4 separate regions of the Homo sapiens genome follow, and regions 1, 2 and 4 are each linked to region 3. Evidence: promoter capture Hi-C in 16 types of primary human blood cells and fetal thymus (Javierre and others, 2016). All regions are on one chromosome and are shown on one strand. Each heading gives the region's core, a stretch centred on a gene start or on the middle of the fragment in contact. The rest is flanking DNA. Distances are from core to core; before and after follow the strand shown. Region 1 has its middle 110 kb from the start of MIR223HG. Region 2 has its middle 160 kb from the start of MSN. Region 3 holds the start of VSIG4 (V-set and immunoglobulin domain containing 4). Region 4 has its middle 120 kb from the start of MSN.

Region 1 (2,700 bases), core at 67-2,566, 140 kb after region 3:
GCTCTTAACTCCTTCTGCCTTTCCAGATATCCAAATGATGCCTTCATTATAGGTCAATACTGATAATGACAGTATTGTAATGACAGTATTTAATTGAAAACTTGTACCTCAACTGAGAAACAATTAAGAATCTTTTGTCCTGAGAATAGGACAAAAGATCAATATAGGACAAGAGGAAAGGAAGACACACTTGATTTTGAAATTATAAGTTATAGGTTTGTAGGTTTAGAATTATAGGATTATAATTTTTTTGATTATGTAGTACTAAAACTCTTTGGTTTTAAGATTATTATATATCTGGAGATGATTCATTCCAACCTTCCCCAACCCTTCCTATTCAGGATTTTACACATGAAGAAAATAAGAACTGACTTGTCCAAAGCCACACAATTGCTAAGTGGTAGAGGAGAGATGAACAGATAAGACTGCATATGTCACAATTTTTCCAGGATCTATGACCTTGATTCTCTGCACTCAATTTGAATGAATGAAGTTTAAATAACACTGGACCTAATTGAAAATATTGGCTACATTTTCATTAATTTCAACCCTCATGGGTAGGTGGCTTCTGGTGCAGGATGGAGCAGAGGACATGAACAGCCAGCTTTCCCTTTGGCCCCATAGTGCTCTGGCTTTCCCTCTGACCCCTGCAGCAAAGGGAATCTGTAAACACATGAGTCCCTTTCCCACTAGGCTTTTGAGCAGTGCTCCAACCTCAGGAAGGGGACTCTCACCTGCTAAAAAAGTTTTCAAAGATCTAGGCACACAGCTTAGTCAGCAATATCTTGAGAGCTAGGAGGAACAGAACATACTCACATGCACGTAATTGCCCTATATATCTTCCCCCAAACTAGAGTCTCTGCTGGGCTGCCAGCAACTACAAAAACCAAGGTAAGAAAAGGCAGCACCTGCAATCACAGAAGGCATTTCCACCCTCTAATACACAAACAAGATAAGATCAAGGAAATAGAAGCAGAAGAAACCTGAGGAAACTTGGGAATGATGGGAGCTAGGCTCTAAGCTGTGATACACCACAACCTGACTGACCTCCAACAAGTTGCTTCCCCTCTCTAAGCCTCAGTTTCCTCATGTGTTGTTAAAATATGAGAACTTTTTTTTCTTCTTATATTGGCATTTATAAAATAGCCAGCACAATGTATATCATAATAATAGCCAGCATGGTGCCTTGCAAAATAAATATTTCTTTCTCTGTGCTCCATCTTTGTTTCCTATCAAGAATATGAGTCCCTTGATTCAAGCACTTGCCTAGTATCTTCTTCTTTTAAGTTTGGAGCCCTGCCTTGCTGTCACCAGTTGGTGCCAGGAACCTCAGTCCAAAATGTGGCTGTGGCAGTGGACCCAGTGAAGCCTAAATTACCTTTAAGTTTTAACAAACTGGTATTCTTTTTTTTTTTTAGACGGAGTCTTCCTCTGTTGCCCAGGCTAGAGTGTAGTGGCATGATCTCGGCTCACTGCAACCTCTGCCTCCCGGGTTCAAGTGATTCTCCTGCCTCAGCCTCCCGAGTAGCTGGGATTACAGGTGCCCGCCACCGTGCCCAGCTAATTGTTTTGTATTTTTTAGTAGAGACAGCGTTTCATCATGTTGGCCAAGCTGGTCTTGAACTCCTGACCTCATGATCCACACCCCTAAGCCTCCCAAAGTGCTAGGATTACAGGCATGAGCCACCGCACCCAGCCAACAATCTGATTTTCTATGAGATTGGGTTTCTTTAGTTCATTGCCCATTTAGTGCCTCTGGTATTTTTTTCATTTTTATTTTTTGGCCTCAAGATGAGCTCATCTCGAAATTTCCTCTTTATGTTTGCCTCCTGGACAGGTCCCCTTCCCTGAGCCAATCTGATGAGCTCACTGATAGCCAGGCCACAGTCCACATGCTCTAGGACAGGGGTGATAGCTATCTTATGCCTGAGCACCCTGGAAAGGCTTCCAGTTTAAGTTACCTCTCCATCCCAAGCAGTCACTTCAAAATCAGCATCCTCTGCTCCCAGCATTCTCTACACGCATCCCTGACCTGGGGCCATTCTGCCAAGTTGGTTAAAACTTTGGTCCCAGCTTCAAAATCTGTACTTTCTCTCACTTTAGTGTCAGGATTTGCTGTCTACCCACAATTCTAAGTACTCAAGAATATCTTGTTCTATCCCTCTCTTCAACTCTCATAAGCTAAAGAAGAAATCAAAATTAATCCACACTGAGGCAGTAGTAGCTATTAGCATCTACAAGTGTGGAAGAACAGGGAAAGGTCTGCTGCTTTCAAACAGGAATTAAAGCCTTTATTTATTTGGCAACTCATAAGGTAAAGAGAAATAGGGCATGGTTATGATGAAGGTGAGGTGGTGAGGGGAGACTCAGTGTCACAGAGGAAATCATTAGCAGTGACAGTGTCTAAATTATTTCTGGATCCCCAGAGAAGAAAAGAGATTTTTCCAAGGTCACATAGCACAATGCATTTCATTAAGCATTTACTGTGTTTGTATTATTCTTTATTTGGCATTGGGCCAAGCACTGGGGATCCAGCGGTAATTTAGACACAAGGATCTTACAGTGTAGTAAGAGATCTAGTCACAAGGACGAATTGATAAAGTTTCTTGACAATTATAGGTAAAGTGTGATGGTCATGTAGACGAAAGAAATTCATGCCAACTGAGCCATTGGAAAGTTTCTGGGAGTGTGGCATATTCA
Region 2 (2,805 bases), core at 269-2,768, 210 kb after region 3:
AGAAATACAAGGGATCTGAAATTTGTAACGTTGAAACCACAACTCTCAAAAGTAGGCCAGGATTCAGTTTAAGTTCATTGTTTCTTTGTTGACTTTCTGTGTTGATTACCTGTCTACTGCTGTCAGTGGAGTATTGAAGTCCCCCACTATTATTGTGTTGCCATCTATCTCAGTTCTTAGGTCTTGCAGTAATTGTTTAATAAATCTGGTAGCTGCAGTGTTAGATGCATATATATTTAGATTGTGATAGACCTTTTATCATTATATAATATCCCTCTTTGTCTTTTTTAACTGTTGTTCCTTAAAGTTTGTTTTGTCTGATATAAGAATAGCTACTGCTTTTGGCGTCCATTTGCATGGAATATCTTTTTCCACCCCTTTACCTTAAGTTTATATAAATCCTTATATATTAAGTAAGGCTCTTGAAGAAAGCAGATATTTGGTTGGTGAATTCTTATCCATTATGCTATTCTGTATCTTTTAAGTGGAGCATTTAGGCCATTTACATTCAGCATTAGTACTGAGATGTGAGGCACTATTCTATTCATCATGCTAGTTGTTGCCTGAATACCTTTCAGTTTTTTTTATTGTGTTATTGTTTTATAGGTCTTGTGAGATTTATGCTCTAAGAAGGTTCTATTTTTGTGTATTTTGACTAAGAATGTTCTATTTTCGTGTATTTTGAGTTTTTGTTTCAAGATTTAGAGGTCCTTTTAGCAGTTCTTGTAGTTCTGGCTTGGTAGCGGCAGATTCTCTCAGCATTGTCTGAAAAAGACTGTGTCTTTCCTTCATTTTTGAAGCTTAGTTTCACTGAATACAAAATTCTTGACTGACAATTGTTTTGTTTAAGGCTAAAGATAGGACCCCAATCCCTTCTAGCCTGTAGGATTTCTGCTGAGAAATCAGCTGTTAATCTGATTAGTTTTACTTTATAGGTTACCTGATACTTTTGCCTCACAGCTCTTAAGATTCTTTCCTTCATCTTGACTTTAGATACTCTGATAACTATGTGCCTAGGCAATAATCTTTTTGCAATATATTTTCTTGGTGTTTTTGAACTTCTTGTATTTGGATGTCTAGATCTCTAGCAAGGCCAAGGAAGTTTTCCTCAATTATTCCCTCAAATATGTTTTTTCAAACTTTTAGATTTCTCTTCTTCCTCAGGAACACCAGTTATTCCTAGGTTTGGTCATTTAACATAATCTCAAAATTCTTGGAAGATTTGTTTACTTTTTTAAATTCTTTTTTCTTTATCTTTGTCAGATTTGGTTAATTCAAAACCTTGTCTTCCAGCTCTAAAGTTTTTACTTCTATTTTTTAAATTTTATTATTGAGACTTTAATTTGCATTTTGCATTTCTCTAAGTGTGTCCTTCATTTCCAGAAGTTGTGATTGTTTTTTATTTGTGCTATCTATTTCTCTGGAGATTTTTTATTCATATCCTCTAACACTAAAAAAAAATTTTAAGTTGGTATTCACCTTTCTCTTGTGCCTCCTTGAGTAGCTTAATAATTCACCTTCTGAATTATTCATCTGGCAATTCAAAGTTTCATTATTTGTTTGGACCCATTGATGGTGAGCTAGTGTGATCTTTTAGGGGTGTTAAGGAACATTGCTTTGACATATTACCCGAATTGTTTTTCTGGTTCCTTCTCATTTAAGTAGACTATATCAGAGGAAGGATTTGGGGTTCAAGGGCTACTGTTCATATTTTTTTGTCCCACAGAGTGCTCCCTTGTTGTGATGCTCTCTCCCTTTCTCTAGGGATGGGGCTTCCTGAGAGCCTGACTGCCATGATTGTTATTTCTCTTCTGGGTTTATCCACCAATGGAGCTATCAGGCACTGGGCTGGTACTGAGGAGTGTCTGCAAAAAGTTCTGTGATGTGATCCATCTTCAGGTTTCTCAGTTGTGGAGACAGGCACCTACTCCAGCGGAGGTAACAGAGGAGTGAAGTGGACTCTGTGTGGGACCTTGACTGTAGTTTTGTTTAGTGTGCTGTTTTTCTCAACTGCTGGTTGTGCTGGCTGTAAAATTGTCATGTGGATAGCCTCAGGACCTCTGGCTAGCCAGGATGTTACAGGCGGTGGGATTAGCTGTTGATTTCTCTTCTCATGGGGCAGGTTTGTTCTGTTATGAGTTGCTGTAGTGGTTTAAGTTGGTTGTTCCCAAGCTAGGAAGTGGCACTTTCAAAAGAGAGCATCAGCTGTGGTAGTATAGAGAGGATACAAGCTTACCCTAGGGTTGCCTGGATAAGTACTTGGGTTTCTTAGGTGTTGCATGGGGCCATACGGCTCCCAAGAGATTATGTTTCTTGTCTTTGGCTACCAGCGTGGGTAGAGAAAGACCATCAGGTGGGGAAAGGGTTAGGCATATCTAACCTTAGACTCTTCTTGAGTGGGGCTTGCTGCAGCCACTATGGGGGATGGGGGTGTGTTTCCCAGGCAGATGATGTTATGTTCCCAGGGGATTATGGCTGCCTCTGTTGTGTTATACAGGTCACCAGGGAAGTAGGGGAAAGCCAGCAGTGACAGGCCTCACCCAGCTCCTACTCAGACAGAAAGGCCAATCTTACTTCTGCCACACTCCCCCAACAGCACAAGTTTATATCCAGGCAGCCGGTGAGCAGGGCTTGGAACTTGAGCCAGGCTACAAGCATCCTTGTTGAGAAAGCAAACAGGGATTTTCTTGCTGAGAAAGCAAACAGGGCTTTCAGCTTTGCCCCTCCCCACTGTGGCTTCTGTGCTCATATCTGCATTTCTTGTTCACCCCCACTCCCGGATTCTGCCCTGGAAAATTTGTGCTT
Region 3 (2,757 bases), core at 31-2,530:
AATGGCTGAAATTTCCAGTGAGATGGAATGAGTGCAGTACTCAAAAAACAAGGAACAACCAGCCAAGGGGGATTGGGCCCTAGAGGCAGAGGTGATTGATAGAATTCCATGTAATAATGTGTCCTGAAATGCTGGAATGTCTCCTTAGCCCGTGCACAGCTCCAAATCATCTGCATGCAGCCACCCCTTGGCAAGTATGTTTCTTTATATTCCCACTCCCCATCTCTGCACAAACTCCTCCCTCCCCTGACCAAGTCCTTTCCTATCCCTCCAATCAAAGAGTAAACTAAGCTTAGCTGTTACTTACAGTGCAGTATGAATTTTTGGGATGTATTTGTGCTTTTGAAAGTGCTTATTGTTTCAAAGCTTAGTAGACAAAGCGCAGTGCCAAACCTAGTTAGACTGCTGATGAAATTACAGTCACTCTGGGGCCTGTGAAGAGGAGCAATTTCTGGAGCAGTTGAGCTTTGCTAGGAGGCATAATATTACTCTCTTGTAGGTCAAGGGCCTGTACCAATTGGAAGTCAATGAAAAATTCAACCTAATACAGCATACCACTAATGGGCTGCTGCACTGGAGGCTAGGCTTAAATTTCCCTTAAAAGAAGTAAAAAATAAATTCCTTATGAAAAAGCATGGAGAACATTAATGAAAATGAATTCTCCCTTACCATCAGAGAGGTGGAGCCATTGTAGAAAGTGATTCAAAGAGCTTCCCCAATATGAGATATGAGGCATATTCACCCATAACAGCCTTATCCATTGGCTTGTCAATTATTCAAGCTTTGATGTGTAGAAAGCCCTTTAATACACTAAACTCTTGTACTCTTAAGCCCAAAAGCACCCCGGGCCCAACACCCTGTCCAGTTGCATAGGCTGCACAGGCAAGGGTTAACAGTACAACTAATGAAAATTGGGTAGGTCAGCAAAGTTGATCTCTTCTCCCTGGGCTCACCACAAAGGAAAACACCGCCATACTGGAGTGGGAAGACTCATCCCAAAGGTCGCCCCCACAACCTCTGAATCTTGTGGAGGAGACTCAAAATAAATACAGCCTAGGAGATCAAAGACCAGAAAGCCCCATTGGCTCCAAGGAAAGTCAAGTCAATACCCTAGCAGGGGGAAGAATTGCTTCACTCATCCTGGAACCTCCAACCCCAAGGAGGTGGGGGAAGGGGGGCACCCCACATGACCTGTACTGAAATAGGGAAGGAAGGGGAATGTGTGATGGGACTAGGAGTTTGAGTGAGAGATATAGGGAAGGAAGGGAAGTAAGCAGTCACAGACGCTGGCGGCCACCAGAAGTTTGAGCCTCTTTGGTAGCAGGAGGCTGGAAGAAAGGACAGAAGTAGCTCTGGCTGTGATGGGGATCTTACTGGGCCTGCTACTCCTGGGGCACCTAACAGTGGACACTTATGGTAAGGCAGAAAGGGGGGCCTGGCTGCCATTGCTGGCTTAGGCAAAAGGCTAGAGGGTTGGTGTTTAATGTCTACTATGGAAAGCCTATTCCTACTGGGCAGGTGAGTCTTCTCAGCCAAACTCTGCAGGCTCTCTCAGCCTTGAGCAAAACGGATGGATGTAGTTGAAGGCTGCTGAAGAAGCCAGAAGGCAAGTTTGGGCAGAAATTGAAAAAGGATTTTTCTCTTGGAAAACATCTGCATTATTTTCTAGGGCTTGTATCTCAGGGGCATCAAGAAGGTTCCCAATGACATCCGAATCTTTCCTCCATCTGCTGTCTCTCATCTAAAATTCTACAATTGGACTTAACCACTCTGCTTCCAAGCTTTGGTCTCTGTTAAAATATACAGCCCCCGAAGAAGGAGTGTTTTCTAAGAGTTGGATAGGACTATAGAAGTAACCTATACCACCCTTCATTGTCATGAATAAGTGCTCAGAAACATCCAGTAGTGATTGAGATTTCACTGTTCACTACCTCCCCAGACCATCTAGTCCATCCAGGAGCAGCTCCAACTGTTAGAAAGTTCTTATTTGTGTTGAACTAAATCCAGTTCCCTCTGACTTCCATCCAAAAACCCCAGCTTTGCTTCTTGGGGCTACACAGAACATAGATGCTTCCTTGCCCTGTGATAGCCCTTCAAAGCCCTGAGGACAAGTACTATGTCTCCTTGACTCTTCTCTCCTCCAAGCTGAACAGCCCCAGCTTTTTCAACTGGTCTTCATAGGACTTGGTTTCTTACCCATTCCTGGGATAACTCACTTCCCTATAGACATGGCTCAATTTGTCTGGGCTATTTATGGGCTGGATACAAATCCCAAAGGAGGATGGACTATTCCATAGTGGCATTATTTCCTTGGAGCTTGGGAAGCTCTATCCTCATCTACACTCCTGAGAAGTGAGATGGATTTTCAGGAAACTCAACCTGGGTAACAGCTAAGTGAGATCCAATATAGGGTAAAGGGGGATTTTGCTGCTTCCCTATCATCCCTAGAGAAAAAGGCTGGATAGGTGTTAGCTTGGTGTCACTTGTTAGGTCAGAAAGAATCCAGCTTTCCGTAGCTGACTCTGATTAGGTTACCCTATCCTGGGGCTCTGTGACCCATCACACTCTGGAACCTCAGAGTTAGAAAAGACTCTGAATTAAGTCAACCAAGAGAAAAAATAATTTGCCCCCAAGCCAAAGAGCATTAGTGGCAGAGTTAATGCTCCTGAAAAAACATTTTTCTTTCTATAACTACCACATTTCCATTCTCTAGCAGGTTTTATAATGTATCTCTCTACCTTCTCCAAGTCTGTTGGT
Region 4 (2,798 bases), core at 157-2,656, 260 kb after region 3:
TCTGTATCAAAAGCACCTTTGCCCTTAGGAAGAGTGAGTATCAGACTCATCCTGGAGTATATTGGAGTCATCTTATCTATTACTCCAAACCTCTCTTTTTATTTCTGAGCCTTGCTTGGACCTTGGCATTCCATTTGAATTCCTTCTGACTGGAGCATTTGTGTTGTATCTGTTAACACTGGCACTGAAATAAAGACCACATGGTTAAAGAAATCTTCCCTATATTGTACTTTATGGTGTCGGAGTGAAGCCTTGTAGCTTCCTTGCCCCCATGTCAGAGGAAGTCTTATGGATACCATAGGGTAGGAATAGCCTTTCCTGAGTCTGAGAAATTGGTCTCTTTTAAGACAAATCTCAGAAATATCCACATCAAAGACTTGAGATTTTTAAACTAGTGAGAGTGCCAAGTGCTTTTTAGAAAGGACCCATGTGTTATTAAACTTCGAAACTGAGTTACTGGAATGAAGTAGATGTGACTCTCTCTGTGGTACATGATGAATGTACTATGTACGTTCAAGTATTCAGGCACCACGTCTTATATACTGAAGAAGAAAGAAAAAGTGAGGCCCACTTTGCTCTTATAATGTTTGCAATTGTTACTGTATTGAATACAGTATAATGACTACTTTGGCTTCAATCTTAAACCTGGAAACAAATATCCTTTTTTTCCCCTCCATTTCACCAAGCCTTTACTTAAAATCTTCAGTGTCTCGTCAAATATAGCTCTGTATCAGATACTAGACTATTCCTAACATTTGACAAACTAGAGTTTAACTAAAGGCTCCACAGGGGAAAGTTTTGGTCTTATTAGTATGTATGAGCAAGATCTGCTAAAACTTACTCCACTGGGTAAATGGTTGACTGAGTCAATCACAGGATATTATCTCCTCCATAGTTTTCAGTAATGTAAGTGTGGACTAGTGCATATTTCAGACAACTGCTCTGCCTGTGCAATGAAAAATAGCCTTTAAGGGTTTCTTTGCAGACTGATTTCATTGGATGGATACTTAATGTTGTGAAACATGATAGGATTAACATAATGTTGGTGGATTTCTTGAATAGAATTTGTCTTAACATTCTTCTTTGTTAGATAAAATAAAGCCTGTTTGTATAGAGGCTTTATTTTTCTCTCCTATATTTGTAGCTAACCAGCTCAGGTTTTTTATTTTAATTTGAACTGGGTTGAATCTCTGAAGAAATCTGTTCAAGACCATGCTATAAGACAGTGTCAGCTAATGGAGCTGGAAAGGGTCTACTCTACTGACAGAGCATTTCCTTGGATGACCATAGTTTTGAAGTAGAGTTTATGATTATCCAAAGCTTTGTCTAGGAGTAAAATATTATGGCCTTAACACAAAGGTGCTGCGTAGAATATGAATTGATTTCGGAAACTGAACGCAAGCACCATACTGAAGGACTAGCAGTCAAATAACTGCCTAGGATACTGATGGTTGTGAAGACTAATTCAAATGATTGGATCTTTGAAAGCTTCAGCGTACCTTAGTTTCTAGGATCAGAATTAGTTTTCCTTTCACTTGGCCTTGCAGCTAAAAGGAGAAATGTTTCAATTTATGTGAATACTTGCACATTTTAATAATTCATTTCCCGAGTATAACCACTCAAGCGGGAGCAAATTTGGATGGATTTACAATTTCAGAGGCATTATGAGGAAGGAGCAATTTCCAAGGCTGTTTTGATAACCCTGGGGTGATAAGCAGTGATCTCTCACATGCTTACTTCAACAATTCCACATGCACTTGTACCTCATTATTTCCCTCCTCACGAGTCAATTTTATTCTAGTCCCTGCCCCATCCGAGGGAATCCTAAAGGAGAATTAATTCATCTAAGTAATCTCAAAAAACTGTAGGAGGGGTGCTCTCCCCTAGAAGCTTCACCCACAGTGCTTTGATGCTGTTACCTTGAGGTGCTTTGGACAGTCATGGAATTTTTAGGCTGTGTATAGTGATCATCTGTTAATTTTAAGGCCTTTCTCATTTAAAGAAACATTCCTCAGTGTAACATTTGGGAAGAGATTCTTTCCTCTTGCTAGTTTAAAGGTGTGATTTATACCCCTTGTTCATTGCATTTATATATGAAAATAGACTTTTAAAACTATCCAACACTAATGGTCGATATAACATGATTTCCATCTTTTTTATGTCCTTCTAGAAGAGATTGGAAGTTAGGAAGTACTGCTTTTGAGGTTCAACTTCATTATCTTCTGCATTGAAAAATATTTGGGCCATGAGAACTAGGGGAAATGAGTTTGAATGTGTATTTTCTTTCTAGTGTATGTATTTTAACCACAGTGTCCTAAACTGAGAAATCTAGAGAGGAAAAAGTGGGTGTTCACAAACTTTGTGGTTGGGGGAGTGATTTTACACGTCTGTATATTCATGACTTTGGGAGTGGAGAGGATCAATGAAGAGAGAATTGCACAGAAATTCTTGAAGTTGAAAACACTTTTGACCAGCTTTGGCTCAGGAGAGTGGGGCTGCTTGTAGAACTGGAAGTGAATAACTTTTTCAAGCAATATCAGTGAGTGGGTCCCATCGACAGGGTTCCAGGACCTGGAACATTCTAACAGAAGAAATTGGTGAAGCAGCTTACACAGTTGCTTTACAAACTTCCAAGGGGCTGATTCTGGCTTCGAGATGGAACATTGGAGTTGGTTTTGTTTTGTTTTCCTCAAAGAACCTGTGGTTGTGCTTTGTGTGTTTTGTTTTTGTTTTATATTTGGGGGTCCCAAGGGAAAGAGCTTCTGAACTCTTTCCTTTATGAACTCCCACTGTGTTCC

What was found. Contacts are between HindIII fragments. The CHiCAGO score rates a contact against its expected background, and 5 or more counts as called.
Region 1: a fragment that was not itself captured here is called in contact with the fragment with the promoter of VSIG4 in region 3 in 2 of 17 cell types (neutrophils and monocytes); the score reaches 10.2 in neutrophils.
Region 2: a contact is called between a fragment that was not itself captured here and the fragment with the promoter of VSIG4 in region 3, in 2 of 17 cell types (neutrophils and monocytes). The highest score is 6.2, in neutrophils.
Region 4: a fragment that was not itself captured here is called in contact with the fragment with the promoter of VSIG4 in region 3 in 7 of 17 cell types (monocytes, total B cells, neutrophils and 4 more); the score reaches 8.1 in monocytes.

The regions. Positions count from the first base shown.
Region 1 is chrX:65,902,021-65,904,720 of GRCh38, reverse strand. No RefSeq gene overlaps it. Among named protein-coding and RNA genes, the nearest start is that of MIR223HG, 110 kb to the left of the region's middle. The HindIII fragment of the contact is 4,674 bases long and covers 1-2,700 here.
Region 2 is chrX:65,828,252-65,831,056 of GRCh38, reverse strand. No RefSeq gene overlaps it. Among named protein-coding and RNA genes, the nearest start is that of MSN, 160 kb to the right of the region's middle. RefSeq lists a silencer at 1,934-2,146. The HindIII fragment of the contact is 1,431 bases long and covers 803-2,233 here.
Region 3 is chrX:66,038,603-66,041,359 of GRCh38, reverse strand. VSIG4 (V-set and immunoglobulin domain containing 4) reads left to right here and starts at 1,280. Exons shown (of 8, transcript NM_007268.3): 1 at 1,280-1,416. The coding sequence starts at 1,362. The HindIII fragment of the contact is 1,000 bases long and covers 784-1,783 here.
Region 4 is chrX:65,783,499-65,786,296 of GRCh38, reverse strand. No RefSeq gene overlaps it. Among named protein-coding and RNA genes, the nearest start is that of MSN, 120 kb to the right of the region's middle. The HindIII fragment of the contact is 168 bases long and covers 1,323-1,490 here.